Regions from separate parts of the Homo sapiens genome. Here all the other regions are linked to region 3. The links are contacts of gene promoters, found by promoter capture Hi-C in blood cells and fetal thymus (Javierre and others, 2016). All regions are on one chromosome and are shown on one strand. The core of a region is centred on a gene start or on the middle of the fragment in contact, and the rest is flanking DNA. Distances in the headings are between cores, read along the strand shown. Region 1 overlaps BDP1 (BDP1 general transcription factor IIIB subunit). Region 2 overlaps MCCC2 (methylcrotonyl-CoA carboxylase subunit 2). Region 3 holds the start of CENPH (centromere protein H). Region 4 overlaps BDP1 (BDP1 general transcription factor IIIB subunit). Region 5 overlaps MCCC2 (methylcrotonyl-CoA carboxylase subunit 2).

Region 1 (4,981 bases), core at 1,389-3,888, 2.3 Mb before region 3:
GGATGATTACTAGCCAAAGTTACAACATAGCTACGACTGGTGAGGATGTAGCGAAACTGCAATGCTTGTACACTGTTGATAGGGATGTAAAATGATAACAGCCCTATGAAAAACAGTATAAAGGTTGCTTGAAAAGTTAAGTATAGAATTAACATAAGATCGAGGCCGGGTGCAGTGGCTCACACCTGTAATCCCAGCACTTTGGGAGGCCCAGGCAGATGGATCATTTGAGGTCAGGAGTTTGAGACCAGCCTGGCCAACATGGTGAAACCCCACCTCTACTAAAAATACAAAAAAATTAGCTGGGTGTGGTGGCAGGTGCCTGTAATCCCAGCTTCTTGGGAGGCTGAGGCAGAAGAATTGCTTGAACCTGGGAGATGGAGGTTACAGTGAGCCAAGATTGCGCCACTGTACTCTACTCCAGCCTAGGCAACAGAGACTCCATCTCAAAAAAAAAAAAAAAGAATTAAAAGAATTACCATACGATCCAGCAATTCCACTTCTGGGTATATCCCGCAAAAAGTAAAAGCAGAGATTCAAAGAGGTATTTATACAACTATGTTCATACCAGCATTATTTCTAACAGCCAAAAGGTGGAAGCAACCCAAGTGTCCATTGATGATAAAGGAATAAACAAAACATGATACACACACACAATGGAATATTATTGAACCTCGAAAATGAAGAACACTCTGACATAAGCTACAACATAGATGAACTGTGAAAACATTATGCTAAATGAAATAAAATGGTCACACAAAAAAATACTGTATGATTCCACTTACATGAGGAGTCAAATTAAAGAGACAAGATGTAGAAAAGTGGTTGCCAAAAGGTTAGGGGGTGGGAGGAATGGAGAGTTACTGTTTAATGGGTATAGAATTTCAGTTTTAACAAAATAAAAAGAGTTCGCCAGGGGTGCAAGGCAGACCTGAGAGTGACCAGGCCAGACGGCATAGAGATGGGGCTCAAGGGACAGGTGTTGGGTGTTTGTATCTTGTATCTTGGTTTTTTGCCAGGCTAGGGGACAACCACTCATTGCGGGATGTCTTAATCATCTTAAAAAAGAACGCAGTAGCTCGTGCCTGTAATCCCCGCACTTTGGGAGGCCGAGGCAGGAGGATTGCCTGAGCTCAGGAGTTTGAGACCAGACTGTGCAACATAGCGAAACCCCATCTCTAAATTAATTAATTTTAAAAAAGAGTTCTGTGGATGGATGGTAGTGATGGTAGCATGACAACACGTACATGTGAATGTTCTTAATGCCACTGAAGTGTACACTTAAAAATGAGTAAGATGGCTGGGCATGGTGGCTCACGCCTGTAATCCCAGCACTTTGGGAGGCCGAGGCAGGTGGATTGCTTGAGGTCAAGAGTTCAAAACCACCCTGGCCAACATGGTAAAACCCTGCCTCTACCAAAAATACAAAAATTAATCAGGCTTGGTGGTGCACACCTGTAGTCCCAGCTACAGGAGGCTGAGGCAGGATAATCACTTAAACCTGGGAGGTGGAGGTTGCAATGAGCCAAGATCCCACCACTGCACTCCAGACTGGGTGACAGACTGAGACCCCGTCTTTAAAAAAAAAAAAAAAAAAACAGAGAGAGAGATAGTAAATTTTATGTTACATGTATTTTAGCACTCTTCTTTTTTTTTTTTTTTTTTTTTGAGATAGAGTCTCGCTCTGTCTCCCAGGCTGGAGTGCAGTGGCACGATCTCAGCTCACTGCAACCTCCGCTTCCCGGGTTCAAGCAATTCTCCTGTCTCAGCTTCCCCAGTAGCTGGGACTACAGGCACCTGACACCACGCCCAGCTAATTTTTGTATTTTAGTAGAGACAGGGTTTCACCTTGTTGGTCAGGCTAGTCTCAAACTCCTGACCTCAGATGATCCACCCACCTCGGCCTCCCAAAGTGCTGGGATTATAGGCGTGAGCCACCATGCCTGGTCCAAATCAAAAAAAAAAAAGTATGTCCCTTCTAGCTTCTCTATCAACCAGAAAACACCAAAATGTTTGAAAGATTAATCAGAGGTTGGCTGGGCTGGTCTCCAGCTCCTAACCGCGAGTGATCCGCCAGCCTCGGCCTCCCGAGGTGCCGGGATGGCAGACGGAGTTGCGTTCACTCAGTGCTCAATGGTGCCCAGGCTGGAGTGCAGTGGCGTGATCTCGGCTCGCTACAACCCCCACCTCCCAGCTGCCTGCCTTGGCCCCCCAAAGTGCCGAGATTGCAGCCTCTGCCCGGCCGCCACCCCGTCTGGGAAGTGAGGAGCGTCTCTGCCTGGCCGCCCATCGTCTGGGATGTGAGGAGCCTCTCAGCCTGGCTGCCCAGTCTGGAAAGTGAGGAGTGTCTCTGCCCGGCCGCCCCGTCTGAGAAGTGAGGAGACCCTCTGCCTGGCAACCGCCCCATCTGAGAAGTGAGCAGCCCCTCCGCCCGGCAGCCACACCGTCTGAGAAGTGAGGAGCCCCTCCGCCCAGCAGCCACCCCGTCTGGGAAGTGAGGAGCGTCTCTGCCCAACAGCCACCCCGTCCGGGAGGGAGGTGGGGGTCAGCCCCCCGCCTGGCCAGCCGCCCCGTCCGGAAGGGAGGTGGGGGGTCAGCCCCCCGCCCGGCCAGCCACCCCGTCCGGAAGGGAGGTGGGGGGGTCAGCCCCCCGCCCGGCCAGCCGCCCCGTCCGGGAAGGAGGTTGGGGGGTCAGCCCCCCGCCCGGCCAGCCGCCCCATCCGGGAGGGAGGTGGGGAGGTCAGCCCCCCGCCCGGCCAGCCGCCCCGTCCGGGAGGGAGGTAGGGGTGTCAGCCCCCCGCCCGGCCAGCCGCCCCGTCCGGGAGGGAGGTGGGGGGTGTCAGCCCCCCGCCCGGCCAGCCGCCCCGTCCGGGAGGGAGGTGGGGGGGTCAGCCCCCCGCCCGGCCAGCCGCCCCATCCGGGAGGTGAGGGGTGCCTCTGCCCGGCCGCCCCTACTGGGAAGTGAGGAGCCCCTCTGCCCGGCCAGCCGCCCCGTCCGGGAGGGAGGTGGGGGGGGTCAGCCCCCCGCCTGGCCAGCCACCCCATCCGGGAGGTGAGGGGCGCCTCTGCCCGGCCGCCCCTGCTGGGAAGTGAGTAGCCCCTCTGCCCGGCCACCACCCCGTCTGCGAGGTGTACTCAACAGCTCATTGAGAACAGGCCATGATGACAATGGCGGTTTTGTGGAATAGAAAGGGGGGAACAGTGGGGAAAAGATTGAGAAATCGGATGGTTGCCGTGTCTGTGTAGAAAGAGGTAGACATGGGAGACTTTTCATTTTGTTCTGTACTAAGAAAAATTCTTCTGCCTTGGGATCCTGTTGATCTGTGACCTTACCCCCAACCCTGTGCTCTCTGAAACATGTGCTGTGTCCACTCAGGGTTGAATGGATTAAGGGTGGTGCAAGATGTGCTTTGTTAAACAGATGCTTGAAGGCAGCATGCTCGTTAAGAGTCATCGCCACTCCCTAATCTCAAGTACCCAGGGACACAAACACTGCGGAAGGCCGCAGGGTCCTCTGCCTAGGAAAACCAGAGACCTTTGTTCACTTGTTTATCTGCTGACCTTCCCTCCACTATTGTCCTATGACCCTGCCAAATCCCCCTCTGCGAGAAACACCCAAGAATGATCAATAAAAAAAAATAAATAAAAAATAAATAAATAAAAAATAAAAAATAAAAAAAAAGAAAGATTATCAGAAAGTAGACTAAACAGCTTCCAGGTACAAGTGTAAGCAGATTTCTCTCGTTGTTACACTGACTCCCTTGCTGGGCCTGGGCCATAGGGACTGAGCAATCACAAAAGGTTATACAAGGCCCCAAATTATATTTGGTAGAGGTTATTTAGAGAATGAACTCTTCAAATCCTAATAATCACTACGAGAAGAAATAATGATCCCCTAAAAGAAACAAGAGGTGAAAACCAAGTAAGATAAAGTACCAAGGTTTTAAAAAAAAACCGAACCTCTTCCATTGTTTCCTCAATCTGAGCAGAAACAGGTTCAGGAGATCTGAGACCAACAGGTACAAATACTGGAGCTTTGTTTACTTCTTCGGGAGCAAGATGATAGCTTTCTTCCTCATAGTCAGACTCAAAATCGTCAGCATCATCATCTTCTTCCTGGGAAGCCCGAAGAGTCACCAGCATGGCCTTGGAAGCTCTAGGTTCCTTCTTAGAGGTCTTACCCCGAACTCGTTTTGATCCACGACCTCTGGTGACATTTGGTTTGAACTTTTTATGACTTCTCCTTTCACCACGATTTCTCTCATACTCAGATGTAGAAGAGATAGTTGTTTTCCCATCCAGGGCAATTTTAGAGTAACTTGTTTCGTTTAACGGTTGTGGACAGCTAGATATTTAATCAAAACAACAATAAGGTCATATGCATGCAAGGATAATTTTAATGAAAACCAAACTTTTAGAGTGAAATTCCAGTTCCAGTCATTAAAATGAAAATTCCCACCACCCATTCTTTTAAAATCTTATGCTGTGAAAATAAAAAAGGAATTAACTACTAGTTTCTCACTCAGAGTTAATTCTTAGTTATCTACCTACAAATTTTTCATAGTAAGTTTTTAATTCTGGACCATTCTTTCCTGTAATATGAAAGTGAAGATAAAATAAACACAAAACTGAAAATTATTAGAAGAAAAAGGGATAAAAGACACAGAACCGGCTGGGCGCAGTAGCTCACGCCTCTACTCCCAGCACTTTGGGAGGACGAGGCAGGCAGATCACTTGAGGTCAGGAGTTCAAGACCAGCCTGGCCAACATGGTGAAACCTGATCTCCACTAAAAATACAAAAATTAGCTGGGCACGGTGGTGCACGCCTGTAATCCCAGCTACTCGGGAGGATGAGGCAGGAGAATCACTTGTACCTGGGAGGTGGAGGTTGCAGTGAGCCGAGTCACGCAATTGTACTCCAGCCTGCGCGAGAAGAGTGAAACTGTCTCAAAAACAAAAAAAGACACAGGACCAATAAAT
Region 2 (4,836 bases), core at 650-3,149, 2.4 Mb before region 3:
TGTCCTTTCCCCCTTCTCCCTACCTCCTTCCCCAGGGAGTCCGGCTCAGTCCTCTACCCTCCTGTGGCCACCAGCCTGCACCACGGTTCCTCAGCATCCACCATCCCCAGCAGGCACCTGATGCCACAGGACTCCTCAACCCTCCATTGAGTCAAACCCACCTCTTTTTTTTTTTTTTTTGAGACGGAATTTCGCTCTGTTACCCAGGCTAGAGTGCAATGGCACCATCTTGGCTCACTGCAACCTCCGCCTCCCAGGTTCAAACAATTCTCCTGCCTCAGCCTCCCGAGTAGGTGGGATTACAAGCATGCGCCACCACACCCAGCTAATTTTGTATTTTTAGTAGAGACAGGGTTTCACCATGTTGCTCAGTCTGGTCTCGAACTCCTGACTTCATGTGATCCGCCCACCTCGGCCTCCCAAAGTGCTGGGATTACAGGCGTGAGCCACTGTGCCTGGCCCCAAAACCCACCATCTTAATGTCTAAGGGGGACAGTGAGTTCACCAAATCAAACTCTCAAAATGGGCATAACAATTGAGTTATCACCCCTAACAAAACACTTTCATTTCAGCAAGAGTTTGAATTCTTTTTCTGGAGACAACACCTTGATCTAAAATGGCTTCAAAAGTATGAATTCCATAGCTGCGTACAGGGGCACAGGTACAGTCTCAGCTACTTGGGAGGCTGAGGCAAGAAGATCACTTGAGCTCCCGACTTCGAGTCCAGCCCGAGCAACAGAGTGAGGAGACCCTGTCTCTAAATAAACTAGTAAATAAGCAATTCTAGACCATACTTTCCAAATCCAGTCTTCTTCACTATTTTTATACTCCTGAGATCCAGTATTTAAACTACTCTAACCTAAATGTAAAATTTTACATTAAAAGTATTATATACAATTTTAAGTATTATATACTTGTTGATAAAAGTTATCTGAAACAGTCTATCAAATATGAAGAATGCTTTCCATCTGAGATTCAGCACTTAGGGAGGAAATATTAAATGCCTACTAAGAAATCACTGGCCAGGTGTGGTGGCTCATACCTGTAATCCCAGCACTTTGGGAGGCCAAGATGAGAGGATCGCTTGAGCCAGGGGTTCAGTCCAGCCTGGCAATAGAGCAAGAACCCATCTCTTAAAAAAAAAATTAATAAAAATTAAAAATAAATTATTTATTCATAAAATTTATGAATTTGAATCTTTACTTTTCCCCCCAAAAGTGGTAGTACTCTATGAAGAGAAAAACTGGCCAAGTAATAGGAAAAATAAAATTAAATGCCTGCATACCAACAAATGCATAGTCTTAAGAGTCAAAAGCTCAGCCAGGAGTAGTGGCTCACGCCTATAATTGCAGCACTTTGGGAGGCCAAGGCAGATGGATCACTTGACATCAGTAGTTCAAGACCAGCCTGGCCAACATGGTGAAACCTTGTCTCTATTTAAAAAATACAAAAATTAGACAGGCATGGAGGCAGGCACCTGTAATCCCAACAACTTGGGAGGCTGAGGCAGGAGAATGGCTTGAACCCAGGAGGCGGAGGTTGCAGTGAGCTGAGATGGCGCCACTGCACTCCAGCCTGGGCAAGAGAGCAAGACTCCATCTCAAAAAAAAAAAAAAAATATCAAAAGCTTAATTCCAGTATTTTTCCTAAAAGCAATAACTATTTTAGGACATCTTAAGTAAAGGCATAAGCTGTGGAATAAATGCTGTGTTTACCTAGTTTTATATGCTCCACTCGTTCATGGAGCTGATTTACTAGTGCTTTCATCTGCTTGTAGTTCTCCTAAAACAGAAATAGAGGAGACAGGGGAGAGAAATATTAGAAAGCAATTCCTTTTTACCAAAATAAAGGTCAAAAAAAAAAAAAAAACAGTGGTCTGTGCCAACTCTGTGTGGCCGCCACACTGGGCCACCCCATCTGTGGCAGCCACGCTGGGCCACTGGATCGTATGGAAAAGATTCACCCCTGCCTGTCTTGTTCAAGCTCTTCTTCACCACCCCACTTGTCCATCTCTCCATATCTTACTCCTCTGTAAGCCTAATTCATGTTTTATCTCATCTTCAACTCTACTTCTGGCCACTCCTACTCAATTTAACATCTTTCTTCCTTAAACACCTTCTGAACTTAAACTGATCTCTATTTGTTTTCCTATTTTAAGGAATATAAGCTTTTTGAAGGTTAGAATACCATCTTATTTTTCCTGTCCCATCAGTCACTATCTGAGATTCCAACCAATGCTTGCTTACTGACAAAGTACACTTAAAAACAAATCCCAGAGGGAGAAAAAGGATCTTATTTTTATTTTTAATTTTGTATTTTTATTTTTTGGGACAGAGTCTCCCTTTGTTGCCCCGGCTGGAGTGCAATGGTGCAATCTCGGCTCACTGCAACCTCCGCCTCCCGAGATCAAGCGATTCTCCTGCCTCAGCCTCCTAAGTAGCTGGGACTACAGGTGTGTGCCACCATGCCCAGCTAATTATTGTATTTTTAATAGAGACCGGGTTTCGCCATGTTGGCCAGGCTGATCTCAAACTCCTTACCTCAAGTGATTTGCCCATCTCGGCCTCCCAAAGTGCTGGGATTACAGGCATGAGCCACCGCACCTGGCCAAGGATCCTATTTTATGTTTTAAAAAGAACAGGCTGAGTGTGGTGGCTTATGTCTGTTATCCCAGAGCTTTGGAAGGCGGAGGCAGGAGCATCGCTTAAGCCCAGGAGTTTGAGACCAGCCTGAGTAACATAGGGAGACTTCCATCTTTACAAAAAGAATAAAAATAAAAAGAATAAAAATTTAAAAATTATCTGGGCATGGTGGTGTGTCCCAGCGACTTGACCAACTAAGGTGGAAGGATCTCTTGAGCCCAGGAGTTTGAAGCTGCAGTGAACTAGGATCGTGCCATTGTACTCCAGCCTGGGTGACAGAGCAAGACTGTTTCAAATAAATAAATAAATTAGTAAAAAGAACAAAACTCGGCCAGCCGTGGTGGCTCACGCCTGTAATCTCAGCACTTTGGGAGGCCGAGGCGGGCAGATCACCTACGGTCGGGAGTTCGAGACCAGCCTGACCAACATGGAGAAAACTCGTCTCTACTAAAAAATACAAAATTAGCCAGGCAAGGTGGTGCTTGCCTGTAATCCCAGCTACTCGGGAGGCTGAGGCAGGAGAATCCCTCGAACCCGGGAGGCGGAGGTTGCAGTGAGCCAAGATTGCATCATTGCACTCCAGCCTGGGCAACAAGAGCAAAACTCCATCTCAAAAAAAAAAAAAAAAAAACAGAACAAAACTCTATGCTGGCATATATACACAAATTAAGTAATACACAAGGAAATATTGACAGTGAGAAGTAGAAAAGAGGTAGAGGGACTAACTTTTCACCCTTCTGTATTTTTAAATTTTGTTTGGTCAGCATATTACTTTAGAACAATACTTAACTAGCTAATTATCTTTGAAATTCAGACTTGGCCCACTAATACATTTTGCTCCCCATGTGATTAGCATCTCTAGTTATTTAGTTCCTTCTGTTTGACAGAACACTAAGCAACTTCCTAACTGTTCAAACTTAGATGAATATTCAGTCTACAGTATATCTCCATTATTTCCTATTTTCTACAGCTCCAAGAGCTCTGAGGGTCATGATTTCTGCTACATTCTCTTGCTCTGCAAAATCCAGAAAATAAAAAACAAGGAAGCAGCATGGTATTAGGGAAAGAACCAGTTGGAGCTAACACAATATACAGAACTTGTCACCCTACAACAGCAGAAAAAAGTATGTAACTTTTCTCAAGTGCACAGGCAACATTCTCCAAGATAGACTACATGTCAGGCCACAAAACAAATCTTAATAAATTTTAAAAGACTGAAATCATACAAAGTATCCTTTTTTTTTTTTTTGAGACGGAGTCTGGCCGTGTCGCCCAGGCTGGAGTGCAGTAGCACAGTCTCAGCTCACTGCAACCTCCGCCTCCCGGGTTCAAGCGACTCTCCTGCCTCACACTCCCAAGTAGCTGGGATTACAGGCGTGCGCCACCATGCCCAGGTAATTTTTTTATTTTTAGTGGAGACAGGGTTTCACCATGTTGGCCAGGCTGGTCTAGAACTCCTGACCTCAGGTGATCCACCAGCCTCGGCCTCCCAAAGCGCTAGGATTACAGGCCTGAGCCACCATGCCTGGCCCAAAAGTATCCTTTCAATCACAATGGAATGAAACTAGAAATCAATGGCAGAAGGATGACTGGAAAATTCACAAATATATGGAAATTAAACAACGTACTTTTAAGCAACCAGTGGGTCAAAGAAGAAAAGCACTGACCCACTGAAGCTGACATTTGCCTCTACAGACTGGGCAACATCTGTGCCAAGCTCAGCCCATCAGACTTAAATCACAGAAGAGCCAGTACTGGCTACAGTTCACCTCCCAGGCAATCCTTTATCAACCAACCTAGCCTCCTTAGGATGAGACTCACTAACCAAGAGGCAGTGTAGTTTAGTGGCAAAACCAAGTTCAACTTTCAGTTTCCCTACTTACTGATACTGCATTTGGCAAATCTTGATCTCTCAGGACGCCAGGTGTTTGTGTTTGTGTGTGTGTGTGTGTGTGTTTTAATCACCTGCGAAACAACATTCTACAACCTAGTAATTTTCTTGTGAAGCTGAGCAACCACAGAGGTTAGTGCCTGACAGTCATAATGAATTGGAGCTGAGCCACTGACAAGTTTCCCACCCCATCTTTTCAACCATAGAACCCACCTAGGTAGAGCTGGGTGAGTGAGAAGCATTATAGAGCAACAGTTAAGACCCTGGACTCAAGAGTTATGAGCCAGACCACCTGGCTTCAAA
Region 3 (4,398 bases), core at 186-2,685:
TGAGCAAATGGTAATTTAAGATGACAGCAAGGGTGAGGAGGAAAAAACAATAAAAAAGAAATAGACATCTTTTCATTTTTCAAAACATTTAAGAAAGAAAAAAATGGTAATTAATTTTTTTTTTTTGAGTCAAGAGTCTTGCTCTATTGCCCAGGCTGGAGTGCAATGGCACAATCTTCTGCTCACTGCAACCTCTGCCTCCCGGGTTCAATCAATTCTCTTGCCTCAGCCTCCTGAGTAGCTGGGATTACAGGCGCCCGCCACCACGCCCAGCTAATTTTTGTATTTTTAGTAGAGACGGGGTTTCACCATGTTGGCCATGGTTGGCCAGGCTGGTCTTGAACTCCTGACTTAAGGTGATCCGTCTGCCTCGGCATCCCAAAGTGTTGGGATTACAGGCGTGAGCCACCGCGCTCAGCCAATAATGATTTTTTTAAAACTACCTCTGTTATGATATAGAACAGAGGACCGCAAATTTTTTTCTGTAAAGGACCTGATAGTAAATTTTTTAGGGTTTGTGAGTCACACGGTCTCTGTTTTAGCTACTCAATTCCACCCTTGTGGCAGGAAAGTTGTACTCCAATAAAACTGTTTATGGAAACTGAAACTTGAATTTCTAATAGAGTTCACGTGTTATGAAATATTTTTATGATCTTTTCCCTGCAACACTTAAACATAAAAACTATTCTTAGCTTGAGTGGTCACACAAAAATAGGCAGTTAGGCAGATTTGGCCCAGGACCTTCTCCTGCTCACTAGTTTAGAAGACGAATGTCCCTTCTCATCGAATCTTCCCCAGCAACCGCTTAGTGGAAAAGTATAAACACCGTCCGCTTAGTAGAATTTATAACATATAAAGCTTCTGGGTTACAAAGGGTCGTAGTTCTAAAAGAAATGGTAGGGGCACCTTCCTTCCAGTTTAGCTCTGGCATTCAATTTGTCTGTAAACCAGAGAGGTAGGGGGAGGGCGGGGAAACAGGAGGAGAAATTACAGCTTCTAAGGGCCCGGGGCACTGTGCTCAACACTTTCCTAGACTATCTCATTTAACCCTTGTAACCTCTCTCCAGGGGGTCATTTTTCTCTCCTTTTCGCTGATGAAGAAAGAGCTTCAACAGTTTAAGTGAATGAGGCAATCACGGAGACCTGACGTGACCGAGCGTGAATTCGAACCCTAGCCCTTCTGAGCAAGGGCGGAGTTCCGGGCCACAACGCCCACTTGGCCCCGGCTGAGGAGGCCAAAGGGAACAACCTGAGGAGCAGGGTCATGCGGTCCTCGCTGCACGCCGCCTGGGCGCCGGCGACCTGCGGTGGCCCGCCTGCCCGGCCTTCCCCTCCGGAGTCCGCGGGCTCGTCGGCGTCTTGCATCTGGGGCTGCTCCTCCATTGCTGGTTGAGGGGAAAGGCTACCACTCAACAGGCAAACGCGCTCAGAAAAGGTCGCTTTTCCCGCCACTAAATGGACGCCGGGAAAAGGCCCGAGGGCCCCGCCCCTTCCGCCCAGGGCCCCACCCTTTCCGCCTTGTTTTTCGGTTGCCGTGGTTACTACGGGCTCCTCTTTCATCCGGGCTCTACTGGTGAAAATAACTGCAGACGGCTGGTAAAAAGTTGGAATAGCTTTCGTTAAGCGTCGGATGTGTAGAGTGCTGAGTTAGGGGCTGGACTAGAGACGTTGGGACATCTCCCGGGAACAGCAGCCTGGAGGGGAAAAATCTCCTGACCTAAGTGGTCATTCGGCCTTGGCGCTTGGACACGGGAGTGCGGCGACAGCCATATGTCCATCCATCTTGGCACTTTTCCGTCCTCTGCCTTTGAAGATGGGTGTGCCCGGCAGGCTGTGAAAGATAAACATTAGAGGGTTGTTTAGAAGACTTTTTTGACCTGAGCCCATGAGGTGCATACCCTTTGTTTGGCGGAGAAACCAGTGGCTTCTGAAGATCAGGGACGGGCCACAAGTGCGAGGCATTGCAGACATTTCGAACCCAGACTTCCAGCCTGGAGACATCCACACGCTTCCAGTTTCTTGCACTGGTACTTCATTCTGTCATTATGATTGCCACCACTCGTAACTGAGAGTTGCGTGCCCTCAAGTTTTGAGTGTCTGCAGGGTACCTTTGAGCTTTCTTAGCTGTGTAGTGAGTGGGGGGAATGGAGAAAATGAAGGACAGATGACTGATTTGTAGTTTTTCATTTGGACACTGTCCTTGCCGCACAAGCACAGCAGCTTGAACCTCTTTGAACAAGAGTCGAGAGTTCTTTTACAGCTAATTACCCACTAGTTAAACTTGATCATACTGTGCTGTTTTCTTCCTCTCCATTGTCAATGTAATACGGCTCCTGACAAAAGTTAAATTCGCTGGGCGTGGTGGCTCACCCCTGTACTCCCAGCACTTTGGGGGCTGAGGCGGGTGGATCACCTGAAGTCAGGAATTCAAGACCAGCCTGGCCAACATGGTGAAACCCCGTCTCTACTAAAAATACAAAAGTTAGCTGCGTGTGGTGGCGGGCGCCTGTAATCCCAGCTACTCAGGAGGCTGAGGCAGGAGAATCGTTTGAACCCGGGGGGGCGGAGGTTGCAGTGAGCTGAGATCGCGCCACTGCACTTCAGCCTGGGTGACAGAGTGAAACTCCGTCTCAAAAAAAAAAAAAAAAGCCGGGCGCTGTGGCTCACACCTATAATCCCAGCACTTTGGGAAGCCGAGGGGGGAGGATCTCGAGGTCAGGAGTTGGAGACCAGCCTGACCAACATGGAGAAACCTCGTCTCTACTAAAAATACAAAATTAGCCAGGCGTGGTGGTGGGCACCTGTAATCCCAGCTACTGGGGAGGCCGAGGCAGGAGAATCCTTTGATCCCGGGAAGCAGAGGTTGCAGTGAGCCGAGATCACACCAGAGATGCACGCCAGCCTGGGCAACAGAGCAAGATTCCTTCTCGAAAAACAAACAAACAAACAAAAAAACAGTTCAAAAGACACAGAATGGACTGGTGGCGATGGCCCACGCCTGTAATCCCAGCACTTTGGGAAGCCAAAGCGGAAGGATCGCTTGAAGTCAGGAGAACAGCCTGGGCAGCATAGTGAGACCTCGTTTCTACTTAAAACAAAAACAAACAAACAAACAAAAAAACAACAGGTGTGGTGACTTAGACCTGTGGTCCCAGCTACTCAGGAGGCTGAGATGGGAGGATCACTTGGGCCCCAGCCGTTGAGGACTGCAGTGACCTATGATCGCACCACTGCTCTCCATCCTGGGTGACAGAGTGAGACCCTGTCTCAAAAAAAAAAAAAAGCACAGGATGTAAAATCAGGCATTAGGTTTGCTATTCCTACATGTAAACTTATGGAACATTTTCTTGTTTCCTTTCATTTTGTTTTACAAAAAGGATGATCCCATTGTTAACTTTTTCTCTTTACCACTTAGTGGATGCCTTCCACTGTCTCACCACAATCTTATCCTTTTAAGCAGTTGCCTATCAGGTGTCTCCACTGCTCACATTTGGGACAAAAATAATGCAATGTGCAGTCGCTCACGCCTGTAATCCCACCACTTTGGGAGGCCAAAGTGAGCAGATCACCTGAGGTCAGTAGTTTGAGACCAGCCTGGCCAACATGGTAAAACCCCATCTCTACTAAAAATACAAAAAAGACTGTCTCAAAATTTTTTTTTATAAAAATAATAATGCAATGGTTATCCAACCGTGAGAATTCGGAGGAGACCTTGTTAAAACACATTTCTGGGTGTCTCTAGGATTGTTTTGCATTTGTAACAAGTTCCCAGGTAAAGTTGCTCTTGCTTATTGAGGAGGACACTTTGAGAACCACCACCATAAAGGGTCATAAAACGCAATTAAAAAAAAAATTCACAGTAAAACAAAAAAGGGTGGGTGTAAGGCCCTGCATGGTGGCTGATGCCTATAATCCTAGCACTTTGGGAAGGCGAGGCAGGCAGATCACTTGAGGCCAGGAGTTTGAGGCCAGCATGGCCAACATCGCGAAACCCCATCTCTACTAAAAATACAAAAATTAATCAGGCACAGGGGCACACGCTTGTAATCCCAGCTACTCGGGAGGCTGAGACAGGAAAATCGCTTGAACCAGGGAGGCTGAGGTTGCAGTGAGCCAAGATAGCACCACTGCATTCCAGCCTGGGTGACAGAGTGAGACCCTGTCTCGGGGGGTGGGGGGAAAGGGTGGGTGTGGGTAGGGAGCTATCCATTAAAAAGTCAATAATAAAGATAGAAGAGATGATAGAATTAGAAAACTACCATCTTACCACTCCCAGGGAGATAAATGTCAGGAAAGTATAATTAATGAGTGCTAAAACTAGAGACCAGCACTTCAGAGGAATGTTATAGCTAGTGGTTACCACCTTAACCAGATGGTCAAAATTGGTATCAAAAATGG
Region 4 (4,456 bases), core at 1,049-3,548, 2.3 Mb before region 3:
TATGGCAAAACACTGTCTCTACTAAAAATACAAAAATTAGCCAGGCGTGGTGGTGTGAGCCTGCAGTCGCACAACTAAAAATACAAAAACATTATAGATCATGTGAATTTTTTTTTTTTTTTTTTGAGACAGAGTCTTGCTCTGTCGCCTAGGCTGGAGTGCGGTGGCACGATCTCAGGTGGCTGAGGCAGGAGAATCACTTGAACCTGGGTGGCAGAGGTTGCAGTGAGGCAAGATCGCGACACTGCATTCCAGCCTGGGCGACAGAGCAAGACTCCGTCATAAATAAATAAATAAATGTATGTATGTATGTATGTAAGTATGTGGGTGAAGGGAAGCTTATATTAAGGCTCATGTACTTGCTTACCAAAAATGTGAGGAGGAATCAGAGTACTTACATCTCTATCAGCACAGGATTCATTTTCATTCTTCTCTACATTGGCCCCAATTTCTTCCTGTGATATGAGAATTTCTTTTCTTTCAGCAGCTTTACCTGCATTTGGCTTTGGCTTTTGCAATCGGCCCCTCACTTGTACAGGTCTTAAAGCCTTTAGTTGACTCCCTTCCTGCAGACAATTTTTTTCACCCAAACTAGAACCACAAAGAAATAAAATTAATGTTTATTTTGAAGTCACCAATTTCCTTCTCCCTGGCATGAATAAGTAAACCATTTGGAATATGAAATAATTCACAAGTTTCCTGAAAAGACATAATCCGCCCGGGCGCAGTGGCTCGCACCTGTAATCCCAGCACTTTGGGAGGCCGAGGCGGGCGAATCATTTGAGGTCAGAAGTTCGAGACCAGCCTGGCCGACATGGTTAAACCTGTCTCTACTAAAAATACAAAAATTAGCCAGGTGTGGTGGTGGGCGCCTGCAATATCAGCTACTTGGGAGGCTGAGGCAGAAGAATCGCTTGAAACCGGGAGGCAGAGGTTGCAGTGAGCAGAGACTGCACCACTACGTGACAGAGCGAGATTCCATCTCAAAAAAAAAAAAAAAGAGAGAGAAAAAAAAAGACATAATCCTGGAAGCCCTCTTGAAAAAGCACTTTTAAATAGAATTTTATTACAAAATTGGAAAAATCTACATCTGCCAAGCATAGAATACTACTCCTGACTAAGGATACTATAGAATAATGTAGAACTCCAGGGGATTAGTCCCAAATCATAGTATAAATGGTAACCCCTGGAAGAGCCCAGAATCCACCAGTCAGATTCACATTCTATTTTAGATTTCTATTTCAAGTTAAATATTCCCTTTTAAAATCTCTTAGTATAAATAAAATTATCCAGGGGCATATACTGTAAACATTCAAATGTAATGGCTAACTCAATAGACTCATAAAATTTATATAAGCAATATCAAGCAGAGAGAGTATTATGAATGTTTCAAAACCACCTATGGTTGAAAACGAACTTAAAGTATGCTGCTTGAAAATTAAATTCAGACCTTATTAAGTAGAAAACAAATTATTACCATCATTCCTAAGAGTTACTTTTTTTTTTTTTTTTTTTTACTACTTCCTGAATACTCACACAGATACAGTTTCAGCTTCTGGATTCTCTCTCTCTGTAGTCTCCATTCTCAAAATGTCCAATGTATTCATTTTATCTTTTTCCACGTGGTTCTGTGAATTTAATTTGCTACAATTTATCTACTTACAATAAACAGTTCAAACTTTGTAATAAACAAATGGAAATTAAAACAACAGAACTGGCCGGGCACGGTGGCTCAAGCCTGTAATCCTAGCACTTTGGGAGGCCAAGGCAGGCGGATTGCCTGAGCTCAGGAGTTCAAGACCAGCCTGGGGAACATGGTGAAACTGTCTCTACTAAAATACAAAAAATTAGCCAGGCATGGCAGCGTGTGCCTGTAGTCCCAGTTACTTGGGAGGCTAAGGCAGGAGAATTCTTTGAACGCAAAAGGTAGAGGTTGCAGTGAGCCGAGGTCACACCACTATACTCCAGCCTGGGTGACAGAGTGAGACTCCATCTCAATAAATGAATAAATAAGAACTTCATTTTTTGTACTTCTAACTAGAGGAGATTTTCTAAAAATCCTAAATGCAGATGAGAATTTTTTTTTTTTTTTTGAGACAGGGTCATGCTCTGTCGCCCAGGCTAGAGTACAGTGACATGATCATAGCTCACTGCAGCCTTGACCCCCAAGGCTCAGGTGATCCTCCCACCTCAGCCTCCTGAGTAGCTGGGACTACAGGTGCACACTATGCCCAGCTAATTTTTTCATTTTTTGTAGAGACCAGATCTTGCCATGTTGCCCAGGCTTGTTTCAAATTCCTGGGCTCAGGTGATTAGCCCGCCTCAGCCTCCCAAAGGGCTGGGCTTACAGGTGTGAGCCACCACACCTGATGTACATTTTTTTTTTTTAAGAAAAATGGAATCACACTAAATATTTCAGAAAAATATTTCTGAAATGTTAATTACCAAAGGATACAAAACTGTATTGAAACCATGATTCAGTTGTGTAAAAGAAAATCTGTAAGGAGATATGTGAAAAGATTGGTTGCAAGGGAATAATGAAATTACAAGTATTAGAAGGAATGGCTGGGCATGGTGGCTCACGCCTGTAATCCCAGCACTTTCGGAGGCTGAGGCAGGTGGACCACCTGAGGTCAGAAGTTCGAGAGCAGCCTGGCTAACATGGTGAAACCCCGTTTCTATTAAATATACAAAAAATTAGCCGGGCATGGTGGCGCATGCCTGTAATCCCAGCCACTCAGGAGGCTGAGGGCAGGGGAATCGCCTGAACCCAGGAGGCGGAGGTTGCTGTGAGCCGAAATCACACCATGCACTCCAGCTGGGGCAACAAGAGTGAAACTAAACCTCAAAAAAAAAAAAAAAAAAAAAAAAAAGAAACAAGATTACAACACTTCAAAGAAAAAAAGGTAAAGAAAAAAATTACAAGTAATTTTTGTTTTAACTTTTACATGAATCTGTATTTTCCAAATTTTCTACAATTCAATAAACATAAGATTAGAATAATGTAACTGTACTATAAAGATTATGATAAAAGATATTTCACAAAACAGGAAAAGAAGCAAACCAACATCTTAAAAAGTGTTTTAGTTTAAAAAAAATGGTAACAATAGAATTCTGGAAAAGTTATAAGGAAACAGAAAGATTCATTTAGCAATGTAAATAGATTATTTATGACTGTCAGTTTCACAATGCATAACAATTCAGGAGACTCAGACATACCAGAAAATTTTTTAAAGTAATAAAAATAACAAATAACAAAAGACAATGCATAACAAGAATCACAAAAATATTTAAAACATTATTTGACCCAACGATCCCACCCGTCTCTAGAAATTTATACTTTGTTTCCTTGAGAAAGCCTTACTTACAAAATTGTTTGCTTCTAATGTACAAGAGTTAAAAAAACAAACAAAAATAGAAACAATCTGAACATCCATTAGTAGAGAACTGATTAGGTAAATCAATAACATGTTAACATGACACAGCTATTAAAAAGATCAATTGGACCCAAAAAAATGTAAATTAATAGTTTCAGAGGAAAAGGGTTTTTTTTTAATTTTTTATTTTTTTGAGACAGAGTTTCGCTCTGTTGCCCAGGCTGGAGTGCAGTGGTGCAATCTTGGCTCAATGCAACCTCTTCCCTTCCGGGTACAAGTGGTTCTTTTGCCTCAAACTCCCGAGTAGTTGGGATTACAAGCATGTGTCACAATGCCCAGCTAATTTTTTTGTATTTTTAGTAGAGATGGGATTTCGCCATGTTGGCCAGGCTGGTTTCAAACTCCTGGCCTAAAGTAAGCCACCAGCCTTGGCCTCACAAAGTGCTGGGATTACAGGTGTGTGCCACCGTGGTCAGCTGAAAAAGGTTTTGGCAGGGCACGGTGGCTCAATATGGTGAAACCTAGTCTCTACTAAAAATACAAAAATTGGCTGGGCATAGAGGCGCGCGCCTGTAATCTCAGCTACTTGGAAGGCTGAGGCAGGAGAATCTCTTGAACCCAGGAGGCAGAGGTTGCGGTGAGCCGAGATCACGCCATCGCACCACAGCCTGGGCGACAGGGCGAGACTCCGTCTCAAAAACAAAACAAAGAAAAGAAAAAGGTTTTAAACATTATACACATTATGGTTAAAAATTATAGAAATGTGTGCATACATAGATAAAGTTATTGGCCAGGCATGGTGCCCTCATGCCTGTAATCCCAGCATTCTGAGAGGCCAACGCACACGGATCACTTGAGGTCAGGAATTCAAGACAAGCTTGGCCAACATGACAAAACCTCGTCTCAACTGAAAATACAAAAATTAGCTGGGCGTGGTGGTGCATGCCTGCAATCCCAGCTACTTAGGAGGCTGAGGCACAAGAATAGCTTGAACCTGGGAGACAGAGGCTGCAGTGAGCCAGGATCATGCCATTGCACTCCAGCCTGGGCGACTGGGCGAGATCCTATGTCAAAAAAAA
Region 5 (4,678 bases), core at 2,008-4,507, 2.4 Mb before region 3:
ACTCAATATCTATCATATTACAACTTTAATAGTTATAAGGAGATTTATCTTTTAATAAATATTAAGTAAGTACCATCTCAGGGAAATGTGTGAGGATATAAAAATTCATCTAAATTGTCCCTATTCTCAAGTAGCTAACAGACTAGTAGAGGAAATTAGTCCAGATATATCTAGATTAAAGGGATAAATGCTATTAGTAAGGCACAGTACAAGAACTATGGGAGCTAGGAGGAAGAAAATATTACTTCCAGTAAAGGATTCCGGGATTTCCTTAAAAGGGTGGCATTTGAGATGTGTCTTGGAAGATGGGTTGGAGACTCCGACCCAGGAGGATGAGGGGAAAGAGGACCAGCATGGGCCTGAGCAGATGGTCAAAAAAGGCTATGGTATATATGGAGACCAGTGACTGCATCAGGTTGACTGCAGTTTAGGGTCCAGGAGCAATAAGGCTAGAAAGTTAGGTTGAAATCCGATCACACGGGGGCTTAAGTATCGGGCTAAGAAGTATGAGCTTTGTTTTGTAGCAAATAGTAACAGGAGGGCCACATAAAGAATAACCTTGCAGCATGTGTCCACTGTATGGGAAAGGATAGACTAGGCAGACAGGGACACCAGGCAGGTGAGGCTAGAGCCACAGTCTAGTGGTAACAAAGGCCTGAGCTGCCTCTGGGGGTGATAGTAGGAACAGAGTGGAGAGGAACTGCCCAAGGGTGAAACCAACAGGACTCATCAATATATTAGGCAAAGGCTTAGGATGTGTTCACTTTGTGCCCGGCATCAGAGCAACTGCCAGGGATACAAAAATGTCAAAGATGTATATTTTTGACCTAAAAGGATTAAGTAAGGGAAAATGCAGAGAAAAGAGCCAAGGATGACATCAAGTCCTAGGGAAAGAGCAAGGTAGTGCTAGCAGTAGATGGGAACTCAGGTGAGGGAACAAATGAGTAGGGGAAGTTAATGTGTTCAATGTCTAGTTTGAACCTAAGTCTGAAAAGACAGAGGAAAAAGTGTTTTTCCTACTGTCTGACACAGTCACTCAATACCTCTGACACCAGATATGTGGGGGTATTTCTCCACACACCAAGCAGTTCTCCAGCAGACACCAGCTGTCCTCTAATCCAATTCAGTTCTTACAGTCTACCTAGAGACAGCATCAGATCCCACAGACTAAGGGCTCAGTCCTACAAGATGGCCCTCACTTCAGATGCCAATCCACAAGGAGCAGGTTGTCACCTATATTTCTGATTGACTGTAAATCAGGGCTGCCACTACCCATCCTTGGGTTTGACTAATTTACAAGAGTGGCCCACAGAACTCAGGGAAACACTTTACTTACATTTACTGGTTAGGAAGGATATCATAAAGGATACAGATGAACAGCCAGATGAAAAGATACATAAGGCGAGTCTGCAAAGGTCCTGAGGGCTGGAGCTTCTGTCCCCGCGGAGTGGGAATGCACCACCTTCCTAGCACTTGGATGAGTTTGCCAGCACAGATGCTCTCTGAACACCATTTAGGGATTTTTATGGAGGCTTCATCACAGAGGCATGGTCAATTATTAACTCAATCCCCAGCCCCTCTCCCTCCCTGAAGGATAGGGCTGGGACTGAAAGCTCCAAGTTTATGGTCATGGCTTGGTCTTTCTGGTGACCAGCACCATCCAGGAGCCCACTAAGAGTCGCCTCATCAGAATAAAAGATGCTCCTATCACCCAGGAAATTCCAAGGGATTTTGGAGCTCTGTGACAAGAATGGGGGTCAAAGACCAAATCATAGAACAAAAGATTCTTCTAGTACCCCTATCTACAAGGGTATTAGGAACTCTGTCGGAGGAACTGGGGCAGACACCAAATATTGGAACAAAAGAGCCTCCTAGTGCCCCTACTGCTCAGAAACTTATGAGGATTTTAGGAGCTCTGTTCCTGGAACTGGGGACAGAGATCAATGTGTATATTTCTTATTATTTCATACTAAGGTACCAGCAGGAAATTGACTGAGAAAGCAGAACCCCCGAGGTTCAAAAGTAGAGATGTAGAGGTGGTCAAGACTAGATAAAGATCAGGGAGATGACAGGTAATGAGATCTGGCTAAATCGTTAAAATAAATAAATAAATAAGGGCACCCCAGTGGCATGAAGCATAAGGAGAATTTCACGAAAAGGAAAAAAATGATGATACCAAGAGGCTGTGCAGAGTGGGAATCTGGTCTCTAGGCTGGTGAAACTCTCGTAGGGCATGGAGGTTTGAAGGAGTGAGCAGTTAGAATGAAGACAATGTGCCAATCCTTAAGAATGTTGGCTGGGCGCGGTGGCTCACGCCTATAATCCTAGCACTCTGGGAGGTCGAGGTGGGTGGGTCACCTTAGGTCAGGAGTTCAAGGCCAGCCTGGCCAACATATGGAAACCTCATCTCTATTAAAAATACAAAAAAGTTAGTCAGGCATGGTGGTGCATGCCTGTAGTCCCTGCTACTAGGGAGGCTGAGGCAGGAGAATTGCTTGAACCCAGGAGGTGGAGGTTGCAGTGAGCCGAGATCGTGCCACTGCACTCCAACCTGGATGACACAGTGAGACTCCATCTCAAAGGGGGAAAAAAATGTAGCCACCCAGGTAGGGAGAAAAGCTTCAAAAACAGCAGAAGCTAGAAAAGGTCTTTATCTTTTGGCATCATTTTAGTGTTCTTTTTTTGTTTCCTTTAAAGAAAAGGTATCAACGTGATTTTGGGGTGTGAGAAGAAAAATAAGCAGATAAAAAATTTTTTCATTTTTAAAAGATGGGGTCTGGGCTGGGCACAGTGGCTCATACCTGTAATCCCAGCACTTTGGGAGACCAATGCGGGCAGATCACTTGACCTCAGGAGTTCGAGACCAGCCTGGGCAACATAGTAAAACCCCGTCTCTACTAAAAATACAAAAATTAGCTGGGCATGATGGCATGTGCCTATAGTCCCAGCTACTCGGGAGGCTGAGGCAGAAGAATCCCTTGAGCCTGGAAGGCGGAGGTTGCAGTAAGCCAATATTGCACGCCACTGCACTCCAGCCTGGGGACAAGAGCAGGACTCCATCTCAAAAAAAAAAAAAAAGAGAGAGAGAGAGATGGGGTCTCACTATGCTGGCCACGTTAGATCTTAAACTCCTGGCCTCAAGCAATCTCCCACCTTAGCCTCCCAAAGTGCTAGGATTAGAGGTGTGGACCACCGTGCCTTGCCCAAGAAAATTAATTAGAGTAAGAGAAAGGGAATAAATGATGAAGCAAAAAGGAGAGGTTAGTATTAAAATCATAAATGACGGGTTTAGGTTTTGAGAAGAGGAGAAACATAGCCTGACATCTTCAGTGCAGATATCAGGTTTAGGCTCATATATTCAGGAAAGGCTCAGAACAGATACTATGGAAACTTAAAAATACGGTTCATTAAAATATGAGAAGGCAAACCTTAACCCTAAACCTCCTTTCCTATTTAAGGGAAATAGAAAAAAATAAAGGCTAAGAGAAGTAGCTCAAAGAAATACTGATATATGTGTGTGTGTGTGTGTGTGTATTATATACGTTATACATAATATGAACCATATATATATAATATGAACTATATAATATGAATTAGATATATAATATGAACCTCTTGGAATTTAAAAAGAAATTTCTGTTATCATATATTGAGTCTCCATAGTATCTTTTCTGACCCCTTCCTGAATATATGAGCCCTAAACCTGAAATCTGCACTGAAGATGTCCGGCTATGTGTGAGCACTTTTCTTCATACTGAAAACACTAGTACTTACTCCACCTTCCTTCTCTGATATATTATATATTATAAATATATGTATATTTTCTTGAGACAGTGTCTCATTCTGTCACTCAGGCTGAAGTGCAGTGGTACAATCATGGCTCACTGAAGCTTCAACCTCCTGGGCTCAAGTAATCCTTCTGCTTCAGCCTCCCAAACAGCTAGGACCACAGGTGTGTGCCCAGGCTGGTCTCACCTGGGCTCAGGCAATCCTCCTGCCTTGGCCTCTCAAAGTACTGGGATTACAGGCATGAGCCACCACGCCCAGCCCTAATATTTTTTAAAAAACAAAAATAAAATAAGTAAAAGGAAGACAGTCATTCAGTCAAATGCCCTTCAGACATTTTGAGTTTTTTATCATAAGCAGGTATTGCTTATTCCAAGAAGTAAGTACACTTTTGATTTTTAAAAGATCTGATTTTAAAGCACTTTAAACTTCAAAGTTCCACAGGAATAGAGACTCCACCTGGCAGCAGAAAGACACAGCAAAGAACATGTTAGATGATAGAGGGCTATAGTGCTTAAATAGTAGCCTCCCCCAACAAAAGATAAAAAGATATAGCCATATCCTAATCACCAGAATCTGTAAAGATGGTCTCATTTGAAAAAGGAATCTTTGCAGATATAATTAAGAATCTTGTGGATTACCTGGGTGGTCCCTAAATCCAGTGACAAGTGTTCTTATAAGATAGAGAAGGAGAAGACCCAGATACCCAGAGAAGGTCACGTGAAGATGGAGGCAGACATGGGAGGGAGGTAGCCATAAGCCAGGGGAATACCTGGAGCCACCAGGAGCTGGAAGAGGCTAGGAAAGGAACAGAATGTCCCCTGGAAGCACAGCCCCGCTGCTGCCTTGACTGCAGAGTTATGGCTTCCAGAACTTCACAGAATAAATTTCT

What was found. Contacts are between HindIII fragments. The CHiCAGO score rates a contact against its expected background, and 5 or more counts as called.
Region 1: a fragment that was not itself captured here is called in contact with the fragment with the promoter of CENPH in region 3 in 2 of 17 cell types (activated CD4 T cells and total CD4 T cells); the score reaches 5.9 in activated CD4 T cells.
Region 2: a contact is called between a fragment that was not itself captured here and the fragment with the promoter of CENPH in region 3, in 10 of 17 cell types (total CD4 T cells, non-activated CD4 T cells, naive CD4 T cells and 7 more). The highest score is 21.3, in total CD4 T cells.
Region 4: a contact is called between a fragment that was not itself captured here and the fragment with the promoter of CENPH in region 3, in 7 of 17 cell types (total CD4 T cells, activated CD4 T cells, total CD8 T cells and 4 more). The highest score is 8.7, in total CD4 T cells.
Region 5: a fragment that was not itself captured here is called in contact with the fragment with the promoter of CENPH in region 3 in 1 of 17 cell types (non-activated CD4 T cells); the score reaches 5.9 in non-activated CD4 T cells.

Annotation. Positions count from the first base shown.
Region 1 is chr5:71,523,303-71,528,283 of GRCh38, reverse strand. It overlaps BDP1 (BDP1 general transcription factor IIIB subunit), which reads right to left. Exons shown (of 39, transcript NM_018429.3): 25 at 3,961-4,345. Among named protein-coding and RNA genes, the nearest start is that of MCCC2, 62 kb to the left of the region's middle. The HindIII fragment of the contact is 8,080 bases long and covers 1-4,981 here.
Region 2 is chr5:71,589,872-71,594,707 of GRCh38, reverse strand. MCCC2 (methylcrotonyl-CoA carboxylase subunit 2) reads right to left here. Exons shown (of 17, transcript NM_022132.5): 2 at 1,716-1,782. Among named protein-coding and RNA genes, the nearest start is that of MCCC2, 5.0 kb to the right of the region's middle. The HindIII fragment of the contact is 540 bases long and covers 1,630-2,169 here.
Region 3 is chr5:69,186,620-69,191,017 of GRCh38, reverse strand. CENPH (centromere protein H) reads right to left here and starts at 1,435. Exons shown (of 9, transcript NM_022909.4): 1 at 1,250-1,435. The coding sequence starts at 1,383. LOC112267932 (a long non-coding RNA gene) reads left to right here and starts at 1,541. Exons shown (of 2, transcript XR_002956215.2): 1 at 1,541-2,027. RefSeq lists a silencer at 1,384-1,503 and enhancers at 1,362-1,656, 1,584-1,823. The HindIII fragment of the contact is 12,435 bases long and covers 861-4,398 here.
Region 4 is chr5:71,498,734-71,503,189 of GRCh38, reverse strand. It overlaps BDP1 (BDP1 general transcription factor IIIB subunit), which reads right to left. Exons shown (of 39, transcript NM_018429.3): 14 at 1,537-1,628; 15 at 399-591. Among named protein-coding and RNA genes, the nearest start is that of BDP1, 45 kb to the right of the region's middle. The HindIII fragment of the contact is 3,916 bases long and covers 341-4,256 here.
Region 5 is chr5:71,612,885-71,617,562 of GRCh38, reverse strand. All of the region lies in intron 6 of MCCC2 (methylcrotonyl-CoA carboxylase subunit 2), which reads right to left. Among named protein-coding and RNA genes, the nearest start is that of MCCC2, 28 kb to the right of the region's middle. The HindIII fragment of the contact is 1,271 bases long and covers 2,622-3,892 here.